Regions from separate parts of the Homo sapiens genome. Here region 2 is linked to region 1. The links are contacts of gene promoters, found by promoter capture Hi-C in human tissues and cell types (Jung and others, 2019). All regions are on one chromosome and are shown on one strand. The core of a region is centred on a gene start or on the middle of the fragment in contact, and the rest is flanking DNA. Distances in the headings are between cores, read along the strand shown. Region 1 holds the start of BIVM (basic, immunoglobulin-like variable motif containing). Region 2 has its middle 68 kb from the start of SLC10A2.

What was found. The method cuts DNA at HindIII sites, captures the fragments that hold promoters and counts their contacts. A contact is called where the count stands out against the background at its distance.
Region 2: a fragment that was not itself captured here is called in contact with the fragment with the promoter of BIVM in region 1 in 1 of the 25 tissues and cell types used here (lymphoblastoid cells).

What each region holds. Positions count from the first base shown.
Region 1 is chr13:102,797,700-102,800,399 of GRCh38, forward strand. BIVM (basic, immunoglobulin-like variable motif containing) reads left to right here and starts at 1,420. Exons shown (of 11, transcript NM_017693.4): 1 at 1,420-1,822. It overlaps POGLUT2 (protein O-glucosyltransferase 2), which reads right to left and starts at 1,277. Exons shown (of 10, transcript NM_024089.3): 1 at 790-1,277. The coding sequence starts at 971. RefSeq lists an enhancer at 1,427-1,646 and silencers at 1,707-1,976, 2,537-2,586, 2,617-2,700. The HindIII fragment of the contact is 13,413 bases long and covers 1-2,700 here.
Region 2 is chr13:103,133,100-103,135,799 of GRCh38, forward strand. No RefSeq gene overlaps it. Among named protein-coding and RNA genes, the nearest start is that of SLC10A2, 68 kb to the left of the region's middle. RefSeq lists an enhancer at 1,217-1,276. The HindIII fragment of the contact is 6,276 bases long and covers 1-2,700 here.

The sequences.
Region 1 (2,700 bases), core at 170-2,669:
CCACTGCACTCCAGACTAGGCTAGGAAGTGAAACCCTGTCTTAAAAAAAAAAAACTCACGCTCAGCCATGGGCAAAAGCAAAGTAGTAGGTAGTGTATCATCTTTTGCCAAATAACAAAATTTACAACCTGCCTTTTACTTGACAACCTTTTATTCCAGTATTTTTTTCTGTATGAAATACACACAGTCAGCATCCACCAATAATAGAGACAATCATTTCAGAAGTATAGGAATTATAAAAATAAGTTTTAAGTATGATGTTAAAGTATTAAATTCATTGGAACAAAATATTTGTTACAATCATATAGGAGATTAATACTTCGATACTTTCCTTCCGAACTCTGAAGTTTCAAATAGTACTTCATTTTTCTTTTTCAGTTTCAAAACATGCTTACCTGCAGATGTCTCCTTGAAAATTGAGGGCCGCACCAGAGAAAGATGAAGCCCATCAAGTCTCTAACAACTAGGTTTAAATCCCTTATAATAGCTTATGCGAAAAGTAGTTAGAAACAGTATTTCCAGCAAAGTGGAGGGACTTTGTCTTGCCCTGATAATGTGGGAATCTGAATCAAAATTGCTAGGAGATTATTTTATATGTTATATACAATACATTATATTGCATATATTATAATTCGGAACAATTTCTACAGCTACAGAGAAAAATGGGTAACCAAATATCCTGGAATATAAACTGCTGTGGAGAAACGAGTTCTTGGAAAGAAAAATCTTAAAGGGAGAAACAGATTTAACCGCCATCCAAAATAGGTAAGGAGCCGTTTCTCGACTTACTTATTCCCTGATGTATCCACTGCCTGAATATAGAAATAGCGGGCGGGAAGGACGACGTCTGCTTTTAGCCCGGGTCCCCATATTTCGCTCTTCTCCGGGCTCAGCTGCCTTTCTCCGCCGGTCTCGGCGAGTGCTGGAACTGTCGCCAGAAAGAAGCAATAAAGTAGCAAAGTGCCAAACATTTACAAGACGGACTCTCGAAATGATCCACCGATAAATGAAGAAGTGTAAGAGGTGGACAGAAGCAGCCGAGCCTTCGGCAGGGACCCGCCGGCCGATCGCAGCAGCCAACGCGACTGCAAAGGTTGCCGCCCGGCGTGCAGGGCAGGCGCGCGGGTCTCCGCGACCCCAGGACAATCAAAGCCCGTGCCCCGGCGCGCCCAGGTGAGGGTCCCCTGGCGTTCTGCTGTCCCGGCCGAGAACCGCGCTGCTCCTCTCTCTCAGGACAATGATGAACTTGAGTTGCTCCTGCCACTGGAGCATCATTTGGGAGCGAATCCGTCTCAGGTTCCAGCCAAGGTGTAGGGCGAGGGGATTGGCCCGTGCGTCGGGCCAGGCTCAGTAACGCCTTCTCCAAGTGGATGGCGGGGTGGACACGCGTCCCGGCGCCCCGGGCTCCCTGGGATATGTAGTTCGCGACAGGACGAGCGGAAATACTGCCAGGATTTTACCACCTCTCGCCCATTTATTTACTTCTCGGTCACCGCTTTCGGGGGACAGATAAACACCACAGATGCCCATCAAAGGGGCGCACGGGTCTGGAGGCGCAGCTCAGGTTTTTGCGTTGGTCACCCTGCCCTCCGCACGTGGAGAGGGCAGGCATAAAGCACCTTGAAAGGAAGGTGCTGTCAATGCTATCCGACGACCTGTCGCCGGGCACCGCAGCATCCTCGCTCGCTCCGATGGGACGAGGGACGCCGGCCCCAGGGTAACAGGAGGCGCCTCGCCGGCCGCGCGCTGGATGCTGTGATCCAGGTCCGGAGCCGGGTTCCGCCGCGGCCGCAGCGACCCGACCCCACCCGACAGGCCAGAGGTACCCCGGGGCGGGGGGCAGGGGCCGAGGTGGCGGCCGGCTGTGCGCTCTGAGCGCCTGGCCCTCCGCTGGGCACCTGGGCGCCGCCAGCCCGGCCTGCTGCCGCTCTACGCGCAGCCACCTGGGCATTCAAAATTTTTACTTAATTCGATACCGGCCTGGGCTGCCAGGGGTCATCGCCTCTCCGAGCCCCGTGGCGTCCAGATGGAGGCCACTGCATGGGTGCGCGCTCTCCCGGGAAGGAGTAGGGGGAAGAGCTGTGTCGCGGGGGGAAGAGAAGCGCCAGGGAAAGAAGGGCCTAGCCCTCTGGTGAACAAAGCTCGATTAGGAGGTGTCCATGTGGATACCGGTGACCCCTGTGCGGCCGTCGGTCTCCACGCCACGCTGGGCAGGGTCCGGGAACCAGCGCGCAGCGGCCGTCGCCTTCCCCTGCACGCCAGCACCCGGGTCTGGGCCGCCGCCAGGAGTCACGGGCTCACCGCCCTGGTCAGCTTGGCAGTCGGACCCGGAGCCGCCTCCTCTGCCTGCCTCCCTCTTGCCAGCTGCCCCGAAAACCCAGAAGAGCCGGTGGCTCCGAGCCAAGGCGGGCCTGGTTCGGCGCCAGGAAAGGGGGTTTCTTTCCTATTTTCTTTTGTGCAATTGTCATTATTAATGATACCGACTCGTTTACTCAAACAGTCGAATCGGAGCCCCAGCTCTTAGCCCGGATGCAGCAATTGCCCGTGGGCCCCCTTTAACACCAACAGCGTCCCCGGGGCCCGGGGCAAGCATGTTCGAGGCGGTCACCCCCGGGCCTCGGCGCGCTCCCCCTGGCGGAGAGCCTCGTCTTCCGGCCGGTGAGGGAAGGTAGAGGAGGGAGTAGGGGCGAGGAGGCCTCG
Region 2 (2,700 bases), core at 31-2,530, 340 kb after region 1:
CACATCCTATGCTCACCTAACTGCGAGGGAAAAGGAGATCTCAGGGCTGCCTGAGGCTACCCTGTGGTCGCATGCTTGTGACTAGTGACCTTGCAAAGGGAAGGAGAACCTGCCTTCTCCTCGGGAGCCCTTGACTTCAAACAGTTGGGTGCATGTTGCTTCTGTTCCCTTTATCACCCTGGCATTTTGTTCTAATTTGTCCCTTTCTCCTTTCACTCTTTTTCTGATCCCCACTCACACTGGTCTTTGTTCTTGAGGTTAAAAGAAGCTCAGGCCAGCTTGATGCTTCTCAATGGACTCCCAGGCACCAGGAACACGATTGAAGGCGCTGGCCAGGCTCTGTCTCTCAGTCTCTCTGATGTGATGTGGGGCTCCTCAGATGGTGTGGCTGATGGAGGCCCCAGCTTCCCCCTTGGTGGTCACTGGTCAGTTTTCACTCTGTCTCTTATGCAGTGTATTAACCCCAGGGGGCATTGCTCTCTGCAGCAGACAGTGGAAACAGCCTGTTGGGAACGAGGCTGCCCATCCAGCTCCTTCGATCTTCTGATAAAAGCAGACTGGGGCGCAGTCAGCAGCAGTCGGATTCCTTTAAAGACCTGCCTGCCTTGCCAAGAGAAGGGTTGTTTGTTCAGGTTTGCACTTGGCTGGCATAAAAGGCATTGCAGGGACTGGAGTAATGGTATTCTCTTGGGTCTTGTCCAGAGTAACTTTAGAAAATAATTGATGAGCACTTGTTATTTTCCCCAGCTTAACATTCAACTTGTGGGTGATCCCCATTGTTAGACTTCACCTAAACCTGGCTTTGTGCCACTTTTTTTCTTAGACTTGGAAACTCAAAAGATTACATAAATTTGTTGGTTGTAAGTATTGGATGTCTTCCCATGGAGACTGGACCAGAGACAGCAATATAGTTCCAGGTAAATTTATGAGTTTTTATTCAGGTTGGACGTTTTGGCCTCATATGAGGACATTTTAGGGCATTTTGCTGCATTCCTAGAAAACACCTTCAAATGTTGAGCTGCCAGTGTGCTGTGGGGCAATTCTATATGGGGGTGCAAGGAACACTTCTGATGAACTGAGAAGGAAAAAATGGCTTCCTGACACTCTTGCTGGGCCACACAGGTCACCTACCAAGCCGATTCAATGGCTGAACTTTTGTATAAAAAAGCTAGATAAAGCAATCCCCTCTGGCAGAATGAAAGTTTCCATTAAATGTGAGCCAAGGGCCATCAGCTAAATTGAAAGATAAAGACATGCAAAGGGTATCTAGTGCCCTGGTGCATGTGGAACTGAACCGTTTTATCTAGAGGTCGAGGGAGTCATAGTGGACAAGGTCCCTTGAGGGGAAGTGGTGAAGCCAAGGGGCTGGAGGAGATGCTCAGGCTGAGAGTGACAAGCAGAAGCCAGGAAGCTTAGCCAGAGACATGAGCCTCAGGCAGAGCTGAGTGGTCTCTGCCTGGGGAGGAGAGAAGCAAAGACATGCCAATCAGAGAACAGAGTTCAGCTGCCAAAAAGTGCAATGAACCAGTTTTCTCTCCCCATCTCCTTACAATGGAAGGAAAATTAAAAACAAACAAACAATAGACTCTCACCCATACCTTTTATAGTGCATTTGTAGCTGTTATAATATTTTTATATAGATAATATTTTTTTGAATGAGTTCTGGAGATCTAATGTACAGCATGGTGACTATTGTTAACAATACTATATTGAATACTTGAAATTTGCTAAGATATTGATCTTAGGTATTGTCATAATATACAACAAATATTAACTCTGTGAGGTGATGAATATGTTAATTAGTTTGAAGCTGGTAATCCTTTCACAATGTGTATCAAAACATGTTGTACATCTTAAATATATACAACTTTTATTTGTAAATTATACCTCAAAAAAGCTGGAAAAGATAATGAAATAATATTTTGTGCTGGATGCTTTTTTGTTGGGAAATGGCCCTGCATCAATCACATGCTCTTGATGTCAAGTAAAAATTCTTCCTTTATCCCTAGATGGGACTCATTTTTACCTTTATAATTCTGGTTACAACAATATGAAACGGTACTGTGCAAGAGTTATTTTCTTTCATGCCTGCTGTTCGTGTTTAATGACTTGGATCTCTGTTTTAACACAATATCCACAACTTAAAACTCAGAGAACTGCCAACACAGATGCTAGTTTACTTTGTATAGCTCTAAGATGAGAACTTCAATTTCATATTGGGGGAAAGTCACCTACCACTCCCCTCCCTGCCCTTAGAGCTAGAACTTGTTTATGAAGCAACCTCAGCTAAATGCAAAGAAGATAAGCCAGAAGAGAGAGAGTACATGTCTATTCCAAGTCTGTTATGTTCCCTGTTCAGCGCGTGACAGCCTGAGCCTCAGTGGTTTTGACACTATGGTCCCATGAGCTCTAACTTCTGATGAGGTTTCCTGGGGATGTGCTAAGAGCCAAGCAGAGAGTCTGTCCTCCTGAAGTTCCACTTGGTCCGTTTTATATTTTGGGATTACCTGTCACATTTGTTTTAAAGATGGTTACTCTTGCTTAAAAATAAATTTAAAAATGGTTTCTGTATAACGCTTAGTCTTCACAACATTCCTGTGGGTTTGCTACCCTGATTTCCATTTAATAGATGAAAGAATTGGGGTCCTGGGTAGTCATCTGGTGCAGGATAACAGGTGGGTAAGTGGCCTCCCGCTCAGC